7 separate regions of the Homo sapiens genome follow, and all the other regions are linked to region 5. Evidence: promoter capture Hi-C in 16 types of primary human blood cells and fetal thymus (Javierre and others, 2016). All regions are on one chromosome and are shown on one strand. Each heading gives the region's core, a stretch centred on a gene start or on the middle of the fragment in contact. The rest is flanking DNA. Distances are from core to core; before and after follow the strand shown. Region 1 has its middle 4.6 kb from the start of IL22. Region 2 overlaps CCT2 (chaperonin containing TCP1 subunit 2). Region 3 overlaps IL26 (interleukin 26). Region 4 overlaps LOC105369818 (a long non-coding RNA gene). Region 5 holds the start of MDM2 (MDM2 proto-oncogene). Region 6 has its middle 3.4 kb from the start of YEATS4. Region 7 has its middle 11 kb from the start of IL26.

Region 1 (3,578 bases), core at 202-2,701, 550 kb after region 5:
AATCTCTGGTGGCAGAAGCAAGTGTGGGTTATGACTCTTTACACCTATTTACTCGCCAAAATAATAAATGAAAAGAGAGACTGGGATGTACCTGTGGTCTTCAAAAAATCTATGACAGTAGAGGGCAGATGTTAGGAAGCTAATATCAAATTCTGTTTGCACTAGAGTAGTGAAGAATTTCCATAAATGTTGCCTTCCTCTATCTTTTAAGTTGATTTCAGTACTTAGCATTAGTAGGGAGAAAAACATGCTCGTTTACATTATGACACATTCCTGTGGATAGAGTCTTCTCTTTAAGATGAGATATAATACTGACTGAGAAGACTCAGTCCCCAGGAAGAAGGGAAAGGTGGCTATGGTTGACAAGTGTCTTTGTGGGCAGATTGTGGCAGGTGAGGTGGGACTGGTAGGAAGTTACTCTGGGTACCACCAGGGTTACCTTAGAGCAGAAGTGGGAAGTAAATGCAGTTTATGTTTGAAAACCCCAGTCTCTAGCTTTTGTTTTTTGCTGTACCTCTAACCTCTTCTCCTCACTGGCTGTGAATCACTTGCTCTTCGTGTTCTCAGGAGATGAGTAATTGAATAATCCCTTTCTCCAAGCCAGCTGGGTACTTATTCACACCAAGGTAAATGTGACTAATAACAGCTTCGCATCTTACTTCTCCCATGAAGTAAGTAGGAATTAAATCTTATACACAAGACCTCAGTGAAAAAATTTTTGAAAGACTAGCAAAAGGGTATAAAAGAAGGTCTTTGGCAGAGACATGGTCGATACTCTTGGATGTAATGAGTTCACATTACAAAGATGTTAATTCTCCTTAAACTGGTCTTTACATTAAATAAAAACCTAGTAAAAATTTCTGCCATATTTTTCCAGGAACTTGACAAATTTATCATAAGCTTTATATAAAATATATATGAAAAGTCCACGAATAGCTAAGTCAGCCCTGAAAAAGTAGAGCAAAAAACGTAAAATTTCCTGTTCAGTTTTAAAGACACTCTTCAGTAATGACTGGCTTAAGAACAAAAAGAAAAATAAATAAACCAATGGAACAAAAAAGAGGACTCAGATATATATTTCTATGTATGGGAAATTCACATATGATAAAAGACATTGTTTAGTGGACTATGTTGGGAAAACTGGCTCACTATGTGGAGAAGAATAAAGTTGGATTTCTTACCTTTCATCACATACAAAAATGCATTAAAGACCTGATTGTGAAAGGTTAAGCCATAGAATAAATAGAAGACGAGATAGAAGAATGTCTTTGTGACCTTGGGATGGAGAGAGGCTTTTCAAACAAACCTTGAAAAGTGCAAATCATATAATTATAAATAATGTCTTAGATGACATCCAAATTAAGTCTTGCTGTTCAACAAAGGCCAAATAAACAAAGTGAATTGACAGATAAAAAATTGGGAGAAGGTCAGGTGTGGTGGCTCATGCCTGTAATCCAGCACTTTGGGAGGCCAAGGTGGGTGGATCTCTTGAGGTCAGGAGTTCGAGACCAGCTTGGCCAATATGATGAAACCCCATCTCTACTAAAAATTAGCCAGGCATGGTGGCGGATGCCTGTAATCCCAGCTACTTGGGAGATTGAGGTGGGAGAGTTGCTTGAACTGAGGAGGTGGAGGTTGCAGTGAGCTGAGATTGCACCACTGCCCTCCAGCTTGGGTGACAGAGCGAGACTCCGTCTCAAAAAAAACAAAAACAAAAACAAAACAAAAGGAGGAGAGTTTGTTATGGCTACAACCAAAAATATACAGGGAACTCTTACAAATCAACAACAGAAAAAGAGCAAAGCCCGCTAGAAAAATGAGTGACTAATGTAAGTAACCAATGTATAAAAGGTGGAAACCCGAGTGGCTACTAGTGTATGAAGAAAAATGTAAATTAAAACAGTAACAAGATAGATACCATTTTAAACCTCCAAAGCCTGGCCAAGTTAAAGCTGGATCATACGAAGTGTGGAGGGGGATTTAAGGAAACAGAGGAAGCTTTATTTGCTGGTGTGAGAGTAGATTAACACTCTTTCTGGAGAGCAATCTGGCAATATTTAGTAAATGCTAATAAACTTATCCTTATGACTTAGTGGACATACTTCAAAAATTATGTCAAAAATACTCTCAAAAAATACCATAAAAATGACTTGGTTAAGGGTGTTTAGAGCTACAATGTCTGTGGTCTGGGCAATTGGAGGCAGTTCAGGTGCCCACTGTTGGAGAATGAATAAGTAAGATGTGGTCGGTACACACTCTGGAATGTCACATTACAAGCAGAGGCTACACAAAGAAACATGGACAGATGGTAAGACATCATGCTCAGTAAAAAGGTAAGAAAGAGAGCCATTCCTGTAAAATAAAAATACCTACACACACTAAACAACACTTCTTTTTGCACAGGGATGCATCGATATTCAGAAATACACATGAAACATTAGAGCCATGACCTATGGCAATGGTAGAGGTGGTGGTAGGTGTTTAGTGGGGAGGGAAGGAGAATGATGAGGGTAGGATCACACCCACGCACGTGTGCACACACACACACAGAAACTTGTATGGAACAATGATCATGTGCACTGGACTGAAGAGTATGATGAGTACAAATCTTTTTACCTGTGATACCAGAAGTCTTCTTTCTTCTAGGGAGATTTGTGTCTTAAAGAATGCATTTCCAGTCATGGATTTTCTAGCATCAGTCAATGAGTTGGGAAACTATTTTATGTATGTGATCAATGAATATTTATTTTGCCACTATATGCCAGGCACTGTTCCATGTGCTAGGCACAGTATAGTGAATGAGACAGCCAAAGCCTACTTCTGGTTGAGGATTCTGATTAGTCCTTCTTGGCATTAGATCAGGTAAATTGTTACATATTCCAAATCAACCATGGGTATGGTCTGTCTGGGACCTGGGAGGTGGGCTTTGGGGTTGCTCTTCATCTGCGGTGGCTTTGGGAGAGACTTGAAAATTCACAAGGAAACAACTGCAGAAAAGGCCCATTATAATCTGAAAGTATTTAGCATACATATGTCTCTGGTTGCTGTTTTCACAGGATCACCTTTTTGTTATACCCACAATCTCTTCCATTTTTTTTTTTGAGACAGAATCTTGCTCTATCACCCAGACTATAGCACAGTGCGGTGATGTTGTCTCACTGCAACCTCAGCCTCCTGGGTTCAAGCGATTCTCCCACCTTAGCCTCCCGAGTAGCTGGGACTATAGGTGCACCACCACCCCCGGCTAATTTTTGTATTTTTAGTAGAGACAGGGTTTCACCATGTTGGCCAGACTAGTCTCAAACTCCTGACCTCAGGTGATCTGCCCACCTCAGCCTCCCAAAGTGCTGGGATTATAGGCGTGAGCCACTGCGCCCAGCCTCACAATCTCTTCTAATAGCAAATATTTCTGAGACTCCTAGTATGACTGTTCAGAAACCCCCATACAACACCAGAGCAGATTTTCCCTTTAGTGAGTTTTAGTTAAACTCATTGAAACTTAAGATCTAGGCTCCATTAACACTATCTTCTTGATGCTTGGTCCATCAGGGGCATACAATGAATAAGAGACACACTGC
Region 2 (3,861 bases), core at 1,314-3,813, 780 kb before region 5:
TAATTAGAGTTTATCAACTATAGTACTAATGCATCCATTACTAGTATTGAAAAGAAGTGTTCTTTATTATAGTAACTGTATAAATCAATCCCGTAATTCTGGTCACTGTAAGTGTGCATAAATCACAATTTACTGATTACAAAAATCCATAATTTAAGTGAAGTTATCTAAGACAGTTCCTAGGTAAAAAATCTAATTCAATATAAGTAAATATGAAGTATTCCATAAACTTTCATGGAAAAAAATCCTTTCTTAAAAGCAAACACAGACCTGTTAATAAAGCAATTTATTCCATGCTTAAGAATACGTTCAACTTTCTCCTTCATTTTTTCCTTTTCCGCATGTTCTATTTCTGCAACCTTTGCTGTAGAGTCAACTCTTACCCGGGAACCAAATATCTAAGACAAACGAAGCATAAAGAGAGCATCAGTTTCATTATTTTTTTTGAGATTGAGTCTCGCTCTGTTGCCCAGGCTGGAGTGCAGTGGGGCAATCTCGGCTCACTGCAACCTCCACCCGCTGGGTTCAAGTGATTCTCCTGCCTCAGCCTTCCAAGCAGCTGGGATTACAGGTGTGCGCCACCACACCCAGCTAATTTTTGTATTTTTAGTAAAGACAGGGTTTCACCATCTCACATTGGTCAGTCTGGCCTTGAACTCCTGACCTTGTGATCCGCCCGCCTGGCCTCCCAAAGTACTGGGATTACAGGCGTGAACCACCACGCCAGGCCTCATTACTCTTTTTAAAGAGTCCCATAGCATATTTCAACATTTTTACCAACGTATATATATGTGTATATACACAATAGATTCATACCTATTCCAAGCTTTTTAGTGCAATTGATTCCTGAGTTTATAGAATCCAGCAATTTTTTTTTTTTTGAGACTTTTGAGACGGAGTTTCACTCTTGTTGCCCAGGCTCGAGTGCAGTAGCACAATCTCGGCTCAGTGCAACCTCCGCCTCCTGGGTTCAAGTGATTCTCCTGCCTCAGCCTCCCGAATAGCTGGGATTACAGGCATGCGCCACCATGCCCAGCTAATTTTGTATTTTTTTTTTTTTAGTAGAGACAGGGTTTCTCCATGTTGGTCAGGCTGGTCTCAAACTTCTGATCTCAGATGATCCACCACCTTGGCCTCCCAAATTGCTAGGATTACAGGCATGAGCCACTCTGCCTGGGCAGTAATTTTAATTTTTAAAAAGTAGAGTTACATACCTTTATTTTGTCTGTATCCATACCAGTATTTGCAATAAGAATTTTAGCATTTTCAATTCGTTTTGGTTGATTTACTCCAATTTTTTTATCCAACAGGAAGCCTACAATAAATATAAGAACAGTATCATATTTAATACTTCAAAGCAGCCTTAGTAAATCTTATAAAAAGCTGTCTGCTTTATCATATCACTGTTTCAAAGAAGCTATTTAAGTCCAATTTACCAAGCTCTTAGAAGGCATAAAAGCAAGCTTGTCCAACCTGCCTTATTCTGTTGTTGTTTTGCTTTTAGGCTTTTAGCGCCTGAAAGCCATGGATTTTAGTTTCTGTCTCTAGTGATAAGCAGAAAAGAGGGAGGAGGAAGGGGCTTTACCGACCCAACCAGAAACAGAAACTAGGAACCCATGACTGTATTCTCTTCCTTGGACACTTCTGGTATAAAGCATCCCACTAGAAGAGTTATTACAAAATCAATTTAATGGGTTACTTAAAAAATATGAAACAGAAAATATAAGAGCACAGTACAGACAATAAAATTAAACAGTATTTTGAAACTTTTGTTTCAGATATACGCTACACCCACATCTGTATGGGTTGCAATATAAAGACAATAGGTTAAGTCCTATATTTTTATTAGCTTAAAATCACCACCACAAGAGAAAAATTGAAGATTCAGGTATTGAGGCTGGTGGTAAAAATGGAAAAACCATGGACACCGTGGAGTCAGATAAATCTGACCCTGATCATGCCCCTGCTGCTGGCTATATAACCTTCGACAAATTATCCAACCAGAAATGCTAATTTGTAAAACAGGAATGTAACCAGTAGCAGAGGTGCTAGTTACCAGCCTAGTCCTGCTGCTTTGGAACCATCATACAAACCCAGTACCACCTACCTTTCTAGGCCTTTTTTTGGTTACATTAGAAACTTTTCCATTATGAAGCCACCATTATCTTGGGTTTTCTACTCTATTCAAGTGAACCTAATCCTCACTCACCAGGTCATGATGACTAAATGACTAAAGTTCCTATTACAATTCCTAGTACAGAGCAGACATTCAAGAATGGTGCTGCTTGTGCTACTAATATTCTTGTTTTAATGCTCCTTCCCTACCACCAGCCCCTATCAGAAATGCTACGCAGCGGCCAGGCATGGTGGCTCACGCCTGTAATCCCAGTACTTTGGGAGGCTGAGGCAGGTGGATCCCCTTAGGTCAGGAGTTCGAGACCAGCCTGGTCAACATGGCGATACCCCGTCTCTACTAAAAATACAAAAAAGTTAGCCAGGCATGGTGGCACACGCCTGTAATCCCACCTACTCAGGAGGCTGAGGCAGGAGAATCGCCTTAACTCAGGAGGCAGTGGTTGCAGTGAGGCGAGATCATACTGCTGCACTCCAGCCTGGGTGACACAGCCAGACTCCGTCTCAAAAAAAAAAAAAAAGAAATGCTACACAGCTCTTGTATATAAACTTAATCAAGAGTATTTTCAGAATTATGACTCTCTCTTAAAATAAATCAAGACCTATGACACAGAACAAAACCAGGACTCCAAACCACTGGTAAAAACAGAAGTTGTAAAGCACCATCTAATTCTTTTTTTTTCCTTCTCTATATAAGAATGCCTATACTTTTTGACAGGCCATTTTGTGAAGTAAATATAATGTGAAGATGATCTGGAAAACTTCACTCTAAACAAAAATGTACTACTAAGAAAGCAGTACTTATTATGTCTCATTTATCACTCTTTAAGAACTAGATCCTCTTGCCCTATAAACATACATAATTATTTGTTAAAGAAATTTTTTTTAATTCTTTTCTAAAAAAAACTAGTCATCCCCCAGTATACGAAGGGGACTGGTTCCAAGACGCCCACATACACCAAAATCCCCACATACTTAAGTTCCAGGCTGACTGGAACCAGCAGATTTGAAAAGCTGGCCCACTATATACATGGGTTTCAAATCCTGCAAATACTGCATTTTCCATCCACGTTCGGTTGCACATGTGCAAACCACGGACACAAAGGGCTGACTATATTTATTGAAAAAACCTGCATTGTGAACCTACATAATTCAAACCCATGTTGTTCAATGGTCAACTGTACATCCTCAACAACCAGCTAACACAATGATTTGACTGACCCAGACCCTTCCTGGAGAATACATATAATCCTGGTAAAAGTACCATTTGAGAATAGATGATTTCTAGTAAAAGAAAACATTTCCTCTTTATCAGAGACTGCAAATAACTTCATGGTAGTTAAGTAAACTCTAGAGATCATCAACAATGCTGGAATAGCGCGGGAAGAGGAGTACACTGTCAATAAAATGACAAAAATGGTTGCACATATGATATGTCCTTAAATTCAAGTTCACTGGCTTTGTAAAGGGTCACTGGTCTCAAAACAGAATTCACTCAGTATTCAGCCCTCAGCATCTAATCAAAGCTTCTTGTATCTGACATTCATACATACCTTCATCTAAATAGGAATCTGCCAAACTTCCTCCTAGCTTCTTGATAATATGAATTGCCTCCAGGTTGCCAGAGCCTTTCAGTCTGAGAACTGCTTCTACAGCTAACTTTGTAAAGTGGTCTTTGTGATGAGTAAGAAGTTTTGAGGATAATGTTGTGCCCGCAATATTCATTAA
Region 3 (3,622 bases), core at 181-2,680, 590 kb after region 5:
TTTATCAATTATTGGTATCTCTGACATTAATTGTGAACTTCTGTTGCTTCTTGAAGTTCTATCAGATATTGCTTCATGTATTTTGAATTTCTGTTATTAGGTACAGAAATGTTTATGATTGTTATATTCTCTTGATGAATTGACACATTTATCATTATAAAATTACCCTTATTGTCCCTAATAATATTCTTTGTCCTGAAATCCACTTCTTTTTTGATGCTAATAGAATCACTCCAGCTTTCTTTTGATTGATGTTAGTGTGCTATGTCTTTTTCCATCCTTTTACTCATAACATATTCGTGCCTTTTATTTTTCTCATTATTACTTGTTTTAAGCAATTTGATTATGATGTGAATTGATGTAGTTTTCTTCAGGCTTCTTGTGCTTGGAGTTGATTGGGAATCTTGTATTTGTGAGTATATAGTTTTCATCAAATTTGAAATTGTTCAGCATTATTTATTCAAAAACTTTTTTCTGTATCTCCTTCTGTCTCTTCTCCTCTTGGAATGCTAATTACACATATATTAGCCCATTTGTAGTTGTCCCACAGCTCACTGATTCTGTGGGTTGTTTTTTCCCAGTCTTTTCTGTGTTTCATTGTGAATAGTTTCTATTGCTACATCTTCAAGATCACTAATCGTTTCTTTTGTAGTGCCTATCTGTTAGTCCCATTCAGAATATTTTTCACCTCATACATTGTAGTTTTTATCTCTAGAAGTTTGAATTGAGTCTTTTTAATATTTTCCATTGCTCTATTGAACATGATCAGTCTTTCTCTAACTTCTAGAACATATGGAATAGAGTTATAGCAACTTTTAAAATATCCTTATTGATTAATTGTAACATTTGTGTCCACTCTGGGTTGGTTTCAATTGATTGATTTTTTTCCCTCGTTATGGGTCATATTTTACAGCATCTTTGCACGGCTGGTAATTTTGATCAAATGTCAAATATTATGAATTTTACCTTGTTGGATCCTAGACATTTTTATATTTCTGTAAATATTCTTGAGTTTTCTTCTGGGACACAGTTAAATTAGTTGCAAACAGTTTGATCTTTTCAGATCTTGTTGTTTAAGCTTTGTTAGGCAGGACCAAAGTATTGTTTAGTCTAGTGCTGTTTTTGCCACTCATTGAAGCAACACATTTCTGTAAACTCTACCATATTTCCTATGATTTTGCTTTCCTTTCTTCTTTTCCTTCTCTTCCTCCTTTTTGAAATGTATTTGTTCAGGACATTCGGCCATTTGTCTCACAGAGTTTCTCATAGTCTGTATTTTCTGACTGCATTTTCATAGTGTCATTTAATATATTCTCCTCTTTATTTACCATACATTAACAATTATACAGAGAGACTTGATCAGATTTAGCTTGATGTTTTAGCTAGAACACTTTATAGGTAGCATTGTTTGCTTTCACTGGGTCACATGATGTATGATCTTTATTTTTACGATGATAACAACCCCTGACAATTATTGTCTAGATCCGTTAATTCATAAGGCACTACAAAATAATAATTTTTAAATTCTATTTTATCTTCTTTACTCATAAGCTGGGATAATTCAATAAATAGAATCTACTCCTATTTGGATGTTCTGAGGAACTTATCATATAAGAAAGCCAGGTTAAATACTTAATTATCTTCCTTTATTTGCTAGCTTTCAACATAAGTGGTTGGTTTTCTGATTTTCTCCCATAATGACCAATGAATTATTAATTTTGTTGTCATTTTCTCTGTTTCATTATTAACTCATGAAATTATTTCTTATTTTTGTGAAGCTTATCTGATTTCTCTAAGGTACCTGCCTTTTGGGCTTCCTTGCAAGTCCGTTTTCTTGAGCCACTCTTAAGATAAAACAGCATGACAAATTATCATGATAGACTCCAAGGACTGGAATTCCCAGTACCACTGTATTTGGACATCCTCTCATTGCTTCTGGTGACATTCTAAGCATTTTGCAGCACCTAATAAAATATATTTTCCAATTAGTTTGATTTGGGTAAGTCAGATAGTATAATTGTTCAAAAAATAAGTTATGTGTAATGTAAACTTCTTTATGTTTATACTCTTTCCTAGCCATAATATTTGGAAAATTGTTTATGTAAGAAGACATTTTAGAGATTCTTACAGAACTCAAATACTCTCAGACTTGAAAGAGAATTTAGCAGTCACCTTATTGGATTCATAAAATAATTTACCTAATTGCTAGTGATCAAAATAGAAATGAAAATAATTTCTGTTAGTTTTTAAGATTTCATCGTCTACTTTAATTAACATTTTGAGAGCCTGAACAGTAATTGGTATTTAGAGAGACACATTTCTTCATGTCGGTTGCATGTAATTAATTTTAAAGTCTGGCAAAAATTGGCAAACAGAATATTGTGTTTCCATTTTTTGTAGACTGTTTAATAAGTAACTTGTATCATCAATTGCAAATAGCTTATCAACTTGTAAAATAATACCATTCATTCATCCCTGTAATTTAAAATTGTAAAAATTGCAACTGGTTGAACTGATAAAGCAAGAGTGAGACCAATCCTGTCTTATTCTTTTATCAGCTGCAAAGTCTAAAACCTGTGTCTTCAATAACAGTAGCCTCATCTTAAGGTCGTTGGGAGAATTAAGTACCTAGCATGTAGTAGTTCTGCAGAATTGTTAGTGCTTCCTTTATTGCTTTTCATGCACAGAACATTAATTTTTATTCCAATTACATTTTCTCAACAATTTACGAAGGAGTGGTTCTCTTAAGTAATCAGATACTTTTTTAGTGCTTAAAATTAGTATTATATTGTATAATGTGTATAATTTATAGTAGTAGCTTATTTATTTTTTTATGAGACGGAGTCTTGCTGTGTTGTCAGGCTGGAGTGCAGTGGTGCAATCTTGGCTCACTGCAACCTCCACCTCCTGGGTTCAAGCGATTCCCCTGCCTCAGCCTCCTGTGTAGTTGGGACTACAGGCGTGTGCCAGCATGCCTGGCTAATTTTTTGTATTTTAGTAGAGATGGGGTTTCACCATGTTGGCCAGGATGGTCTCGATCTTCTGACCTTGTGATCCATCCACCTCAGCCTCCCAAAGTGCTGGGATTACAGGCGTGAGCCACCACGCCTGGCCAGCAGTAGTTTAATTTAAAGATAAATAGGCTGAGCATGGTGGCTCATGCCTGTAATCCCAGCACTTTGGGAGGCTGAGGTGGGCAGATCACTTGAGGCCAGAAGTTTGAGACCAGCCTGGCCAACATAGTGAAACCCTGTCTCTACTAAAAACAAAAATAAAAATAAAAATAAAAAGTTATCTGGATATGGGGTGCATGCCTATAATCCCAGCTACTCAGGAGGCTGAGGCACGAGGATTACTTGAACCCAGGAGGCTGAGATTGCAATGCGTCAAGATTGCACCACTGCTCTCCAGCCTCAGCAACAGAGGGAGATTCTGTCTCAAGAAAAAAAGATAAATAAATTATGAGTAATTGGTTTTAACTTTGGTAAAGGTATTTTCTAATTATGTTATTGAATTGTTTTGCTGACAAATTCATTTCTTGGTTAATGATACATAATTTCTCTGTCAAAATTGTGAGGCATGAAAAATGACGGAGAAAAAGCAAGCTGGCTTCACTATCCCT
Region 4 (4,148 bases), core at 601-3,100, 620 kb after region 5:
TTTCCCAGTGTGATTGAAGATTACCTATAAATACATGCTGAGCTTTCTCTATGTACCTGATTTTGTGGAAACTATTTACGGTTCTGCTGTTTTATTCTGATATAGCTTTCCAAGTGTTTCCTCAAATTTTACTACATTGTGTATTTTACTCATTTAGCCAACAAAGATTTATTTGTTTTACTTATTAAGTGTCAGGCTCTGTCCTAAACGTTAAACAGGTGAACATACCATTCTTGATAGGGGGACACAGAAATAAACAAAGGAGTAAACATAAAGGATGTCAGAATAACAAGAACAAACAAGCAGGAGTGGGGGGGTTTCAGGGACTGGGGAAGGGCGGGGACTGGTTTGCTCTTAAAAAAAAGGCTGATCAGAGCTGGGCACAGTGGCTCATTCCTGTAATCCCAGCACTTTGGGAGGCTGAGGTGGGTGGATCACGAGGTCAGGAGATTGAGACCATCCTGGCTAACACTGTGAAACCCTGTCTCTACTAAAAATACAAAAAAATTAGCCGGGTGTGGTGGCAGGCACCTGTAGTCCCAGCTACTTGGGAGGCTGAGGCAGGAGAATGGCGTGAATCTGGGAGGCGGAGCTTGCAGTGAGCTGAGATCACACCACTGCACTACAGCCTGGGTGATAGAGGAGACTCTGTCTCCGAAAAAAAAAAAAAAAAGGGCTGGTCAGGAAAAAGCTCACCAATGAGGTGACATTTTTGCACAGACCTGAAGGATCCTTACAATGACTAAGGAGTAGAGAGTAAAAAGATTATTGATTTTGGTTTTGTAATTTATGTGGATGTAGAAACAGGCTTGGGGATGTTAAATATTTTTAGTAGCATCACATAATTATCATGAAAGAAGTTAAAGCCATGATCTAGAAGATTTTACAATTCTCTGATTCACCTGTTGTGCCTTATTTTCTCTCAGGTAAGCTTCTTAGTTATCTGGTTACTTTTAACAAATGGCAGAAACAACTTCTTAACTATGGAAGATTATGTTCTTTTGATTTACCAAATTATTTATCCATATATGCAGAGAATATATTTTCTGAATGAAAAATTGGGCAGCAAACTCTGAAAAGTTCTAACATGCTCAGAGGGACAATGGGACCACATAATTGAAGTTGGCACCAAACCATGAATATCTGGTCATCATAATAATATAGATGCCTTGGACATAACAGCAAGCACTAACCACAAAGTAATGGTGTACTTTGCCCATAAGAAAGAAACAAATGTGTGACTGAAATCAGCTTTTCTCACTCTATTGCATGGAATATATAGTATTTCCTCAACATATTAGTTTTCCTGTTTTAAACTTACAAAAGTGTTTTCTTATTTAACAAGTTTAAGAAAATGGTGCAAACTATATTTTCTGTATGGGGAATTATAAAGCCCATCAGAATGTTACAGGTTGGAGAAGTTCCACATTAAAACAACTCTTTAACTTTGTTTAATATGAGTTTCTAGAAGATTGTTTCTTCCAAGAATACATTGGCCTTGTAGGCACTTAGTCAGATCAAATGCCTTGTTACCTAGAAAACAGTTTGGAAAACACCAGTTCACACAAATGGTTATCTTGAGATGAAGCAGAGCTAGAAAAGTGTATTATTAATGAAGAAGAAGAAAAACAACAACTACTGGATTTCTCTTCAAAGAATAAGAAAAACATTTAAGGAAGCAAAATGCTGATATGATAAATATGTTTGGAGGAGATTAGAAGAGATTTTAATAAGTATATATAGATAATAATTTTTATGTTTGCTATTTGTATTTATTGAAACAAAGTGAATGTCGTAAGTGTGAAATGCACTGAAGAGACATCTCAGATTGCTGCTTCCTGCTCACCTCATCTACTGAAAAAACATGGTGTGTCACCACAGTGACTTGCCTTTACCCACAAGTGAGGAACTCAGTTTTATTTCCTAGATAAAATGGAAGTGCCAACGATATTCACTTTTTTTCTGTTCATCTGTAACATCTTGGGAATGACCAATGACACTTTCCTACTGAGAAAGAAAACTTTTCATGGTAGTAGTAACCACAGATTTGGATGATGACTCACATTATTACATTAGTAACATCTTTTGTTCTATACTCCACACAAGGAAAAAAGTGCTGAATGCAAAACCACAACTTCAGCTGTCGGTGGAAATGATAGTTAATGGTGCTTTGCTGCTACGCTGGGGGCCAATTCTTGGTAGAGAGGATTATCTTGAATGTGGTTTCTAAATCAATAGATAAGTATGAATTGTGGCACAAATTATATAATATAATTGATTATCATACTTTTAAAATAGATTGAATCTTTTTTGTAAGAGAAATCTGGTTGTAAATTATATTAAAAATAAAATTTTATCAATAAATATATATGTAGATATATATAAGTTATAAACAACTCAGAAGGCCCCTAGATATGGAATCAATTAATGCTTTCTATAAGTTATTTCAAAGGCTAACTCTAAATTATAGTGGGAATAATTTTGGGCTTCAGAGTATGAATTTGGAAATCCTAAAGCCTATATTGGAGAGTTATGATAATCAAAATGGCCAAGACAAGTCCTAGGAGACAATAGCATTTAGTTGAGTGCCTTTAAGAAAATCTAGATTTGTCAAGTAGCTGGTCAATTTTCACAAACATAGCTGAAACAAAATATATTTCAGAATAACATAGGCTTTCTGTGACCATTTCTACACTTGTAAAGTTCAATGTCTAAAAATGTTGGGATGACGTTTTTTTCCCCTCAAGTATCACTTAAAAGAAAGCTTTTAGGCATATAATTCACTTAGATTTTTAATTTATCAATAGTTTCTAAAATAATCTTCTCTGAGAGTGTTGTCAAGGTAAATTCTAAAATGTATTGTTTTAAATTTGTCATGTAACAGGACATTTTACTTCAGAGCTCACAATTGGTGACCATAATATAAAATGTAAAAGAAAAATAAATCCTTTACTACTATTCTGTAATGTGAATTTATTAGTGTCACCACTGAAGCAGCTACAGATAATGATGCTGCCAACAGAAATTTTAGGTGGATTGTGATAAGCATTTCGAAGCAAGTTTTGCCTATTTTCCATAAGCAAATTTCCCGATTAATAAATCAATACTCCTTTAAGTGGCCCATTCTTTCCTTTTTGGATAATGATTTTGAAAGAGAGCTTTCTAAGACATATTACATAGGTTCCTCTTACAATAAGTTTATTCTACGTCTCTAAACTTCAGTTTCCTCCTCACTGAAACGAATACTTTCAATTCAGAGACTCCTAAATTCCCTCCTAGCTCTCATATTTCCTCCTGGCTATAGGCATGTTGGTGTGTGAGCATGGGTCATATTCACTTCTTCCTTTCTGTGTGTGGTTTCTCTTTCTTAGGAGCCCTTCTTCCGATGGCCTCATCTGTTGGTATTCATGCAGACTTGGGCATCCTCTTCCCCAGGTTTCCTGAAGGAGCCCAGAGCTCTTATTCCTCTGGGAAATAGGACCATCGCTCCCTCAACCTCCTGCTAACCACAGGCAGGATTGAAGAAGGGACCCGTAATTTTGTGTCCCTGGTAGGATCTTCAATGTTCACAGCCTCCCCATGACTCTCAGCTTTGAGACTACCAAGGATAATCCCGTGATGCTCTTTATGCTTGTTTAGGACGGAGGGCCCAAGAAGCCCAGGACATCCAGGTGACCCCTCCGTCCCAAGGCTTTCATTTCCGTGATGGCACTGCACTTCCTTTTCCCTCACTTCATCTTCCACCTATCTCCAGCTTCTGAAACCCTTTCAGTGTGTCCCCTGAACTCACTGTCAGTCACCAGCAAGATCCCTTATATCTTTAACATTTTCTCTGAACTTTGCTTTCTTACTGTAACTGACCAGACTGTCCCTTGGAGACCTGGTTCCTTTGCAGATTTCTCTAGATGCATCTGTTTTCTTTCCCTTTTCTTTTGCACCCTGGGCATGTAGGTGGAGGTCGTTTAAGTACCATTCTTGTGTTTCATCAAGGCACACCCCATTCTCCCTCTCTTCTTCTTGAAACTCTTTAGTGTCTTCCTGCTTTAAATATCCTATCATCAGACTACATTATGCACTAATCCCCATGGTCATCATGTACTGATCCCTCAGGTGCTCCTCCTCATTCTAGAAAGATTTTACCTATTGCT
Region 5 (3,695 bases), core at 719-3,218:
AGACAGGTTTTCACCATGTTGGCCAGGCTAGTCTTGAACTCCTCATCTCAGGTGATCGGTCCGCCTTGGCCTCCCAAAGTGATGGGATTACAGGGGTGAGCCACCGAGGCCAGCCTATAATTCTATAAAATCTTTCTTACAGAAATAGTCACACGGGATGCATGTACAAAGCGGCACTATCTGTAATACTCAAAAACAGGAGGCAATTTTTAAAAACCTATCAGTAAAGGCATAAATAATTTTTAAAATGGTATACTCATGCTGTGGAATACTATGCAGCCATTAAAAAGAATTCTGTAGACTTTATTTATTGACAAGGATGCAAGTCACAGAACAACTACAGTTTCATCTTGTTAGTACAACAAACAGGACAATAACATAGATTTAAATTCAAATGTAAATATATGTGGGTACGCACACAAAAAATCTAAAAGGAAACATGGAGCAAAAAGCCTGGAATTTTCAGGTTTTACTTTAAAATTTCTCTAATGACAAAAATCTTTAAAACAAGCACGAATAACTTTTTTGACTTTTAGAAACCATTTTTAAAAATTAAATACTGGGAGGTCAAAAAGGAAAAAAAAATCAGTCACGTAACAAACGTAACTTCAACCACGCTTAACAATGTAATGGAACTAATTTTTAAAGCAAATGTGGCAAATGGCTAAAAAAATACTGACCAGTTCTTAACAGTTTTTAACTCCACGCAGTTACGCCAGAGGTAGCACACTTTAAGCTATGCACATACAATTTTATTTACAGAGCCATGCTACAATTGAGGTATACGAAATTTAGTTTATCACTTCATAAAATAAATTATTCTTAAAAGTTACACGAGACAAAAATACTAACCAGGGTCTCTTGTTCCGAAGCTGGAATCTGTGAGGTGGTTACAGCACCATCAGTAGGTACAGACATGTTGGTATTGCACATTTGCCTACAAGGAAAAAAAAGACACGATGAAAACTGGAAATCATGAAACATCTGTGGAAAATACATCATATATAAAGAACATAAACAACAGTTAAAACTAAAGCTACAAGCAAGTCGGTGCTTACCTGGATCAGCAGAGAAAAAGTGGCGTGCGTCCGTGCCCACAGGTCTACCCTCCAATCGCCACTGAACACAGCTGGGAAAATGCATGGTTTAAATAGCCCCAGCTGGAGACAAGTCAGGACTTAACTCCTTTTACTGCAGTTTCGGAACGTGTCTGAACTTGACCAGCTCAAGAGGAAAAGCTGAGTCAACCTGCCCACTGAACCGGCCCAATCCCGCCCAGACTACGCGCAGCGTTCACACTAGTGACCCGACAGGCACCTGCGATCATCCGGACCTCCCGCGCCGAAGCGGCCCCGCAGCCCCCGGCCCCCGTGACCTTTACCCTGAACTCCCGCGGAGACCTCCGAACCACCCCCACCCCCACCGCCGCGAGAGCCGTCCGAAATCCCGCCCTCCTCCCTGGCGGCGACTGCCTAGCCCCAGTCCAACAAAACCTCCGCAAAGCCACGTGCCCCATGCCCCGCGCCCCGCGCCCCGAGCCCCCAGCCACGAACCGCACAAAGGCTGCGAACGGGCAGAGGCTGGGAACCAGCGATAGAGGGGACACCGTCAGAGCCCAGACCCAAAAGTGACCGCTCGCTGCCGGGCCAGTACCTGCTCCTCACCATCCGGGGTTTTCGCGCTTGGAGTCGGGGGTCCCTCAAGACTCCCCAGTTTCCTTCACGGGGCGCGCGGAAGCACGACGCCCTGGGCCTCGGGGATCATTCCACTCTCCGGGCCAGGGCACTGGGCGCTCGTACGCACTAATCCGGGGAGGGACGGTGCTCCTGGCTGCGAAAGCAGCAGGATCTCGGTCAGAGGGGTCGCGGCCGCCCCTCGGGCTCGGCTTCTTGCTCCATCTTTCCGACACACAGGGCCACACAGGCCCCAGAAGCAGCCAAGCTCGCCGCGGTGCCTCGGTGCGCGCCCCCTACCGCCCGAGGGGAGCGCGCGGGTCGTCGCGGCGCATCCGGGCATTTGTGCGCGCGCACACAACCGGCCCCGCTTCCGCCAATTGGGTCCGGGGCTCGGCCGCACCACCTCCGGGATGATGGAGTGGGGGGTGTCGCCCCGCGGGCGCGGCGGGCTGTGAGGCGGGGTGGGGGTGTTGGCCGCGAGCTGAGAGGGTGGGGCTCGGCCTGGCGCGGAGCCAGCAAGGTTTGGCGCTGTGACACTCCTTTAGCCGTTGCGCTATGTTTGTATTTCTTGTGTTTACACTTCCCGCCCGCGGTGGAAACTGCGACAAATGCGGATCTCCGTGTCGCTGTTACCAAAAAGAAACCAAAATTAACAGCTGTTTAATATATTAAGCCCACTCCACCAGCCGCTGGAGTTGTACCCAAATGAGTTATTTTAAGGCCTGTTTTTAAAAAAGATTAAAAATAGCACTTAAGGCAGGCTTATACACCGGTGCATACAGCTGTTCTGGTTGGAGAACGAAGATGCTGGTTACCGTTGGCGGGGAGGGGAGCGGTTACTCTGCGCTTTTAGAATGTTTGGGTTTGGCTGGGCGCGGTGGCTCACGCTTGTAATCCCATCACTTTGGGTAGGCCGAGGCGGGTGGATCACTTGAGGTCAGGAGTTCAAGACCAACCTGGCCAACATGGGAAACGCCGTCTCTACTAAAAACTACAAAAATTAGTCGGGCGTGGTGGCGGTCACCTGTAATCCCAGCTACTCTACTCCGGAGGCTGAGGCAGGACAATCCTGTGAACCCGGGAGGCAGAGGCTGCAGTGAGCCAAGATCATGCCATTGCACTCCAGCCTGGGCGACAGGGCAAGACTCTCAAAAAAACAAAAACAAAGTTTGGGTTTGTTAATCTACACATTCATTATCATTAAAATATATACTTATATATTATGCACTCATTCTGACTCACCTACTTTCCCACAGAGATGTGGCAAAAACGTTTTTGATGCGGTCTCATAAATTGAGGACATAAAGAATTGAGTTAGCTAAACCCAAAAACACAGCCATTGCAAAGAAGGAACACGTTTCTTCTCTGGCCAGTAAGTGATTAGCTCCTTGTGAACAAGGACCTTTTTTTATAAAGTTATATCCTTCCCTTCTGCAGCTTTTTTTTTTTTATAAAGTTATATCCTTCCCTTCTCCCGCTTCCCAGCCTACCAGAAAGGAAACTTCCTTAAACATAGTGGTCACTCAGTTGATTTAAGTTGATTGCCAATATTATTAACTTAAGAGATTTAATATGTGGCTTTTAAAAAGATAATCTCATCTTCATCAGATCATATACAGTGGGGTTTCTAATAGACTCAGTGCTTGACCCTGGATGAAAGAAAATCTCAAGCAGTGAGAAAATGTAAGCATGAAAAGATAAGTGATAGGCTGCGCACGGTGGCTCACGCTTGTAATCCCAGCACTTTGGGAGGCTGAGGTGGGTGGATCACGAGGTTAGGAGTTCGAGACCAGCCTGGCCAAGATGGTGAAACCTTGTCTCTACTAAAAATACAAAAATTAGCCGGGCCCCGTGGCGGGCGCCTGTAATCCTAGCCACTTGGGAGGCTGAGGCAGAAGAATCGCTTGATCTCGGGAGGCAGAGGTTGCAGTGAGCGGAGATCGCGCCACTGCAGTCCAGCCTGGGTGACAGAGCAAGACTCCATCTCAGAAGAAAAAAAAAAAAAAAGAGATAAGTGAT
Region 6 (3,763 bases), core at 1,050-3,549, 550 kb before region 5:
TGATTGTAATTTTTAGTAATTCCACTTAACAACTGTAAAGAAAATACTTTTTAAAAGACTTCACTAAATAGAAGTGCAAGGGATGTGCTCAGGGCTTAGTTATATTAGTGCCACATGAAGAGCTCAATTGTCATATGGATGTCACTGCATTTCAACCAAGATAGGAACTGAGTTTCTTTGAAAATGATCAAACATTGATATTGATTTTTATTCTGTTGCCAGAATAAGAGTAGAAATTTGGTTTGGGGGCGTAATTATATTTAAAACAATTGGTATGACTAAGAAATATTTATCAAAAACTAAAGCAAAATCTCCAACAAACATTGCTTTCCCTCTTCAGTCTACTTTGTCTAATCTCTGGCAGTTTCCTCAATCAGCCTGTGTTGTTGGGTTATCCTGGCACTTCTTGGACATGTCCTATCTCTGTTTCTCAGCTGTCACTCTTCAACTCTCTCTCCGCTACCTTGACTCATCCTTTGTACACCTCAGGGTATCTCGATATGCATAAACTCATTCGTTTTTAGTTTAATCACGTCAGAATGGTCCAAGAATTTTGAAGCCAAAGGTTGCACCTATGTAGTGGCCCTCTGCTGCCCTCACATGGCTAGTCTATGTGCTGCATTTACATAGCCAAGAAGTGGCTTGGAACCCCGCAAGCGGTTGTACTGGAATCATGTGGCCTTGAAGAGTTAATTAAAAAAAAAAAAAAAAAAAAAAAAAGGCTGGGCGCGGTGGCTCGCGCCTGTAATCCCAGCACTTTGGGAGGCCAAGGCGGGCGGATTACGAGGTCAGGAGATCGATCTCCTGACATGGTGAAACCCCCTCTCTACTAAAAATACAAAAATGAGCTAGGCGTGGTGGCGAGTACCTGTAGTCCCAACTACTCGGGAGGCTGAGGCAGGAGAATCGCTTGAACCCAGGAGGCGGACGTTGCAGTGAGCTGAGATCGCGCCACTGCAGTCCAGCCTGGGTGACAGAGCGAGACTCCGTCTCAAAAACAAAAAGCTTAGAATGTTCAGTTTGGAGGGAACATACTAAATAATCAGCAAGAGATTTATTCGATCAACTGATATTGATTGAGCATGTACCATGTTCCAGTCACTCTTCTAGGTGTTTAGAATACAGAAGTGGAATGAGTGAAAAATTTCTATTCTTCCTATCAGGACAGTGGTTCAGCATATTATAAAATCAGAGATGTATCATGGTAAGGAGGGTGTCCAGGTGTTGGGGAAGGAAGCAACCCACTGAGGGATGTCAGAGCCTGAGTGGAGAGCACTTGGGCAGAGTTGGGGAATTGGTTACATACAGGCAAACCCATCAAATACGTAAATGTACTAAGGATACATTTTAAGGATAATGAGTATAATGGATGCTAAGTTACTTACTGTCAGAGAAGAGAGTTAAAACATGCGAAAGAAGAAAACTAGAGTGAATCCTGTGGTGTGAGATTAGAATTGGAGATATTGGTGTGGATTCATGATTTTCAATATAAATAGATAGATATAGAGATAAATATAGTGTAAATACATATATCTTCCAGCTCTGTTCACTGATAGGGCCTGGAAACAGTGATACCCTAGTGCCCAGATCCTGTTTTTTTAATACTATTATGCACTTTGAGGAATCAGGGCTCCTTGGAGAAATGCCTTTTCCATTTTTGGAAGCAAGGAAGGAACAAGGTGAGCCTTAGAATATCTTGTGCCAGAAAACAAGAAAGTGCTTGAAGAATGATGGAAATATGTCGAAATGGCACAGAAGACAACTTGCAGGGGCTCACTGGCCAAATCGAGGACAGTGTGAACATCAAAATAAATAATAGTAATGGACTATAACTCCTTATGATTTGAATAAAATAGAAGCCATGGGTCCATACTGATATAATAAATAAATGCATGACCAGGCACGGTGGTTCACACCTGTAATCCAGCACCTGGGAGGCCAAGGCAGGCAGATTGCTTGAGCTCAGGAGTTCCAGACAAGCCTGGGCAACATGGCAAAACCCCATCTCTACTAAAAATACAAAAATTAGCCAGGCATGGTAACGCGTGCGAGTAGTCCCAGCTACTCAGGAGGCTGACGCGGGAGGATTGCATAAGCCTGGGAGGCAGAGGTTGCAGTGAGCTGAGATCGCGCCACTGCACTCCAGCCTAGGCGACAGAGTGAAATCCTGCCTCTAAATAAATAAACAAACAAACTGAAAATTTGATGAGCAGTAGTCTCAAGGCACCTCCTCCCCAAATACTTTACAGTGAAGATGGCTTGCAGGCCTCACCTTAATCAAGTGATCCAAGTGAACATCATCAATAATGGGGCAAATCAAAACTGCAAAAACTGAATGCCACCTGAAAGGATGCAGTGAGAACATCACTTCTGTGGTATTCCTACCAAAGATGCATAACTTAATGGAATCGAGAGAACACCAGAAAAACCTTAGGTACATTCTATAACATAACTAGTCTGTGGTCTTCAAAAGTGGCAAGGTCATAAAAAGTCCAGAAAGAAACAACTGAGGAAATAATCCAGATTCAAAGAGACTTAAAAAACATGACAACCAAATACAATATGATTCTGAATTAGATGCTTTTGTTATGAAGGTCTTATTGGGACAATCGATGAAATTGAGTGGAATCTGATGACTAGGTGGTAGTAATGTATCAGTGTTAATTTCCTAATTTGGATAATTGTTTTGAGGTTTTATGCAGGAGAATGTCTTTATAGGAATTACACACTGATGTAATCAGGGCCATTGGGTATCATGTTGGCTATTTACTCTCAAAACAGTTCTGAAAAATAAAAGATCTTTGTACAGTACTTTTATATTTTTTAAAAGATTGAGTTTATTTCAATGTTTTTTTAAAAAGTGGAAAAACCTCTGTCATTTTGGAAGTTATATTTTGGTGAGAAGAGACAAATAAGTAAAATATGTAGTATATAAAATTATTATAGACTTGAGCCCTGAGGCACTCTCACATTTAGAAATTAAATAGCAGAGAAAGAGTGAGCAAGAAGGACTGAGAAAGAACAGTCAGTGAGGTAGGATGTAAATAAGGAAAAGCCAAGGGATTAAAAAACTGCTAAAAGTATGAAGCGGTTCACTTTGTCAAATGCTGCTGAGATGAACAAGATGATCACTGGAATTAGCACTGAGGAATCATGGGAGAAATCCTGGAGGAGCAGTTTCAGCTGGGTGAGGATAGAAGCCAGATTAGAGAGGGTTGAAAAGACACTGGGAGGTGAGGTCATGGAGTTGGTAAGTACAGACATACTTCCCCAGAAGTCTTGCTGTAAAGGGAGCAGAGAATGGAGTTGCAGTTGGAGGATTATGTAGGGTCAGTGGAGTATTTGTTGTAAGATGGAAGGTTACTAGGGCAGACTGTAGAATGATGGAGGTGATCCAGCTAAAAGGGACAAACTAGGGATGCAGGAAACAGCCTGACTTGGAGTAGTGAGAGGGATGGGAGGGAAACTGCATGTGGAGTCAGTGCTGTTGGCAGGAGCAGAGGCTCTTCATCCTGATAATAGGAGGGAAGGAAGGAAGGATGGGCCTGTGGGAAGGTATGACTGCTGCTTTGGGATGTAGAAGGGAAAGCTTGGTATGAAGTTGCTTTTGTTTTAGAAGTGTAATATGAGGCCAGGTTATCTGCTGAGAGCAGAGGAGGGTGGAGGATAAGGGGGCAGAGGAGGAGGCTGAATGTGTGTCTTGAGGCTTTGAAGAGAGAAGAGGAAAAGTAAAATAGTAACAGTCATTTTGGAGACTAGGGAC
Region 7 (3,951 bases), core at 35-2,534, 570 kb after region 5:
GTATTTTGTTATAGCAGCACACACTAACACAATGCCTTAAGAAAATCAATCTATTATTAAACTCTTATCCATTCCCCAGTTTGAACGTAGCATACATTTTCTACTGGGACTCTGCCCTATTTACTCTTCTTCCCCCTTCCATTTCCCGCCCCTCCCCAACTCCCACCCAGCAGCAGGATGGAGTCTGGGAATTTAGGTGAAATCATTTATGGACAATAAATAAAACCAATTTTGGGTGTGTCTGAGTCGTGTGTAAATTTTTGATCCTGTAACAAAACAAACTTGGAAACAACAGTATTTTGATTTCTAAAATTTAAATACTGTTTAATATTTTGTTTTCCTGTTTCTCCAACAGTTTTCTCCACAAAGAAGTAGAGGTGCTGAGGCCAATGTGCACTATCGCCTACAGGAGCCTAAAATTCCCTTCTGCCCCTCAGTCCCAGGAGTGCCCTTGCTCCTTTCTGTGTTTGCTCTTCCCTCTCTGCAGCATCCAAGGGCATTCATAGGAATCTTTGTTTAATTTGGGCTACTATGCAAGCTACAGGATGAGAGATTCTTTCACTGGAATAATTCTGACTCCTCTTAACCTTGCATTTTGGCTGATTCTGTTGTGTGTGGCCCATCTTCCTCCTCTTTTCTTGTTACAGCTACTAAAAATATTCAGGGTGACCCAACGTGTTTCTATTAGTCACAGTCCCTTCATTGTTTCTATGGGGCTTAACCATCTGGGTTCATTCTCTGCATCTTGAATCTTATGTTAGCCATGTGTGTGCAGTTTAATCTCTATAGCACCTAGAAATTGACCAGCTGAGTCCTTACCAGTAGGCACTGTTTCTTTTTGAAATTCACAGGCTGTGAGGTGCTTTTGTGAGCTGTTCTTTCATCTGTGACATTTTCATCTTGCCATCGCCACAGATGCTATTTTTAAGCACAGTAACTGCCCAGGAATTTTAGAACTCTTACATTGCTGCTTGTCTCAGTGAAAGCCTTAGAAATTTCAATTCAATTTAGTTCCTAAACGATTTTTTAGATCATAGGATATACAAGATCCTGTGGGATGGGCTTTGAAAACACAAGGTCAGATTTTATTTGGATGCTGCCCTGAAGGAGTCTGCAGTTGTCTTGCGAGGAAGACAGGCATGCAACAGCCTAGGGCACAAGTGGACTGACATGTGCTACCAGTGAGGCACCAACAAGATGACAATCATCATTGGGAAGGCACCGAAGGTTGCATTTAAGCTGATCTTTTGGAGGACAAGAAGGATTTAAATGGGTTCAAATGACAACACTGTGAAATTTCCCTTTTTTCTTCCCCTTTGCAATCCAGCCGTAGTTAATTGCTCCATCTTCAGGGCTCTCAAGGTATAATTTACATCTCTCTTAGCATTTATCACACTGTAGTTTAATCCCTTGTTATGTGTCTATCTTGAGAATTTTTAAGGACAGAAACTGTTGCCTACATTTAAGCCCCTATACCCTGAAAATGCCTGGCACTTTATAGGTGCTCAGTAAATGCTTGAGATGGATACACAAAGGATTGAATGGCTTTCTGGACCCAAGGACCCAGATGAGCAAAGAGTTGGGGATGTGAAAGTGGATAGAGTGCTCAGGCGAGGGCCACAAGTCCGTGTGGCTAGAGCACAGCTTGTGTGGGCAATGCAGTGGGAAACGGCCAGTAGCTGGTAACATTAATTCTCTTCAGTTTTCTATTTCTAGTCCCTGGAAACGCAGTTCTTGATGGGACTTATGCAAAGGGAGCTTGGTGGACTAACAGGATTTGGGCTCATACCGGGCCTCAGCCCCTAACCTGCTACAGGCTGATATGACAATTCCATCAACGCTGTGTACTTTCACTTTCTCTTTGGTGAGTTTAGGCAGCTGATACTCATGAAAACTTCCCACCACCAGGTGCTCACAGGAATGATACGAAAGCTGGTGCCACTGATGGTGTGGAGTAAAATCCATTCAAAAAACTAAATACACAGCAATTAAGTTGTTTCTGACACAGCCAGACAAGAGGTGTTCCCTCAAAGGGAACACTCAAACTGTAGGAGACCCAACTACAGCCTAGTTGGATTGCTTTTATTGATAATTGCTGACATGTGAAGGCTGCTAGGAACCCTGCGGTTTAAAGCCATGGTTGAATCATCTTGAGCTTTCTTCCCATGGTTTTGCCAAACTCTCCAGGCTTTCATCTTCAGAAGGTTGTTCCAATGGGGCTTGTCTACAGAGTGCATGTGATCTGCTCTTCACTGCCCCAGAACCTTTGCATGGAAAATTCCTTGTCCTTAAAATGAGAAGTACACCTATCCTCATGGAGAAATTAAATCACTTCCATCTTGGCTGGAAGAATAATTGTTTAAATTGAATTTTAATGATACTCAGAAATGAAAAATAAGGTGCACCGCGACCAAGCTCCTCTCCCTCTCCCCAGGCGGGGAGCCCAGGGAGATGCTGATTTGCCCTCCCTCCAAATGGACCTGCCCTATAGGCAGAAATCCCCTCATAATCTGTTTGGTCAAATATGTCTCATATGTTCATTCTGATCATTGGCTTAGATTAGGAATGGACAAGATTTTTGTTTGTTAAAGGAAAAATAGTAAATATTTTAGGCTTTGTGGGCCACATATGGTCTTTGTTGTATATTTCTTCTTCTTCCCCTCCTTGTCTTTCTCTTCTTCCTCCTTCTCCTCCTCTTCTTTTCCCCTACTCCTTCTCCTCCCGCCTTATCTTCCTTCCTCCTTCTCCTTCTTCTCAGCCCCTTAAAAGTGTAAATACCCTTCTTAGCTCATAAGCCTTACAAAAACCAGCTACAGGCCAGATTTGCGTCATGATTTGCTGACTTTGGGCTTAGATCATCCACAGTTCATCTCCTGGCACTACACACACTGACACCCAAACAAAATTCCATGATTAAGATTAAAAGACATTGGTTTTGTGGGCAACTATTAAGATCTGTTATGAGGGCAACTATTAAGATCTGTTATGAGTGGCAGATGGCAGATAAATTCAGCACTGGGTGTGACCCAGAGTTAACAAAAATTGCATTAAATTTCCATATCAACCACAGTTGTTATTGCAGAACAATAAAATAAAATCGTGACTATCGTAGCATTTTATCTTGTTAGCCATTTTATAAATAGGGCGTGTTAGGTTTACAGCAAAACTGAACAGAAGGTACAGAGATTTCCCATAAACACCCTCTGTCCCATGGATGCATAGACTACCCCATGATCAGCATCTCCCACCAGAGTGATATGTTTGTTATATTGATGAACCTACCTTGCTGTTAGCCATTTTTGATAACAATAAGTTTTTTTTTATTACAATAGACAATAAATCTCTGTATCATCATGGGAACCATCTCAGATTCTCTTGGTCTGTCTTGCTCCACTGCTGCCACTGCAGTGATCATCTCTGGCTCTTTCTTCCACTCTGGACTCAGATAAAGTGCCATGGAATAGGTTGTGGAATTTACCTTCCCCTTGGCTGCTAAAGAGAGCAGGTACCATCCAGAGGTTGAAGAAGTTAACTCCTCCTAGAGCAGGCGAGGAAGCTGGCATCTAACTTTCATTCCCCTCTCTCCTTCCCCTGGTCTGACCCAAGGCATGCTTCTGCATAGCCTTTGTGGAGACATCCTACATGGCCAAGAGGCTGGCTGTCTCTCTTCATAAAGCACTGGCTAGATCACTTATGCATTGCCATGAACTTGCTCCCCATCCTGGTTGACCTAATTTCTTTTTTCCATCACTCTCACTCTTCCCTAATAGAGCTTCAGCACAGAAACTTATCCTCATGCTCTATCTTCTGGGGAACCTGGGCTGAGCCAATTTCCTATGTGAATCTAAGCTCCATAACGGTAAGAGTTTGTAGGGGGGGCAAGGGATGGGGGTAAGGGGCATAGACAAGATATCTCTTGGCACCTAGTAGAGGCTCAACACATAATTTTTA

Evidence for each region. The method cuts DNA at HindIII sites, captures the fragments that hold promoters and counts their contacts. A CHiCAGO score of 5 or more calls a contact.
Region 1: a fragment that was not itself captured here is called in contact with the fragment with the promoter of MDM2 in region 5 in 1 of 17 cell types (megakaryocytes); the score reaches 6.2 in megakaryocytes.
Region 2: a fragment that was not itself captured here is called in contact with the fragment with the promoter of MDM2 in region 5 in 1 of 17 cell types (monocytes); the score reaches 6.6 in monocytes.
Region 3: a contact is called between a fragment that was not itself captured here and the fragment with the promoter of MDM2 in region 5, in 3 of 17 cell types (megakaryocytes, erythroblasts and M1 macrophages). The highest score is 11.1, in megakaryocytes.
Region 4: a fragment that was not itself captured here is called in contact with the fragment with the promoter of MDM2 in region 5 in 3 of 17 cell types (naive CD4 T cells, non-activated CD4 T cells and fetal thymus); the score reaches 6.2 in naive CD4 T cells.
Region 6: a fragment that was not itself captured here is called in contact with the fragment with the promoter of MDM2 in region 5 in 1 of 17 cell types (monocytes); the score reaches 5.2 in monocytes.
Region 7: a contact is called between a fragment that was not itself captured here and the fragment with the promoter of MDM2 in region 5, in 6 of 17 cell types (megakaryocytes, fetal thymus, naive CD4 T cells and 3 more). The highest score is 8.7, in megakaryocytes.

What each region holds. Positions count from the first base shown.
Region 1 is chr12:68,256,435-68,260,012 of GRCh38, reverse strand. No RefSeq gene overlaps it. Among named protein-coding and RNA genes, the nearest start is that of IL22, 4.6 kb to the right of the region's middle. The HindIII fragment of the contact is 1,098 bases long and covers 903-2,000 here.
Region 2 is chr12:69,589,513-69,593,373 of GRCh38, reverse strand. It overlaps CCT2 (chaperonin containing TCP1 subunit 2), which reads right to left. Exons shown (of 16, transcript NM_006431.3): 7 at 3,687-3,861; 8 at 1,215-1,315; 9 at 271-398. Among named protein-coding and RNA genes, the nearest start is that of CCT2, 6.0 kb to the right of the region's middle. The HindIII fragment of the contact is 2,196 bases long and covers 1,466-3,661 here.
Region 3 is chr12:68,215,503-68,219,124 of GRCh38, reverse strand. All of the region lies in intron 3 of IL26 (interleukin 26), which reads left to right. Among named protein-coding and RNA genes, the nearest start is that of IL26, 8.5 kb to the left of the region's middle. The HindIII fragment of the contact is 700 bases long and covers 1,081-1,780 here.
Region 4 is chr12:68,187,888-68,192,035 of GRCh38, reverse strand. All of the region lies in intron 1 of LOC105369818 (a long non-coding RNA gene), which reads right to left. Among named protein-coding and RNA genes, the nearest start is that of IFNG, 30 kb to the right of the region's middle. The HindIII fragment of the contact is 1,833 bases long and covers 934-2,766 here.
Region 5 is chr12:68,806,450-68,810,144 of GRCh38, reverse strand. MDM2 (MDM2 proto-oncogene) reads right to left here and starts at 1,968. Exons shown (of 11, transcript NM_002392.6): 1 at 1,654-1,968; 2 at 853-937. The coding sequence starts at 1,667. RefSeq lists enhancers at 991-1,380, 480-1,679 and a silencer at 1,881-2,270. The HindIII fragment of the contact is 7,204 bases long and covers 1-3,695 here.
Region 6 is chr12:69,354,490-69,358,252 of GRCh38, reverse strand. No RefSeq gene overlaps it. Among named protein-coding and RNA genes, the nearest start is that of YEATS4, 3.4 kb to the left of the region's middle. The HindIII fragment of the contact is 2,584 bases long and covers 1,008-3,591 here.
Region 7 is chr12:68,234,663-68,238,613 of GRCh38, reverse strand. No RefSeq gene overlaps it. Among named protein-coding and RNA genes, the nearest start is that of IL26, 11 kb to the right of the region's middle. The HindIII fragment of the contact is 6,281 bases long and covers 1-3,951 here.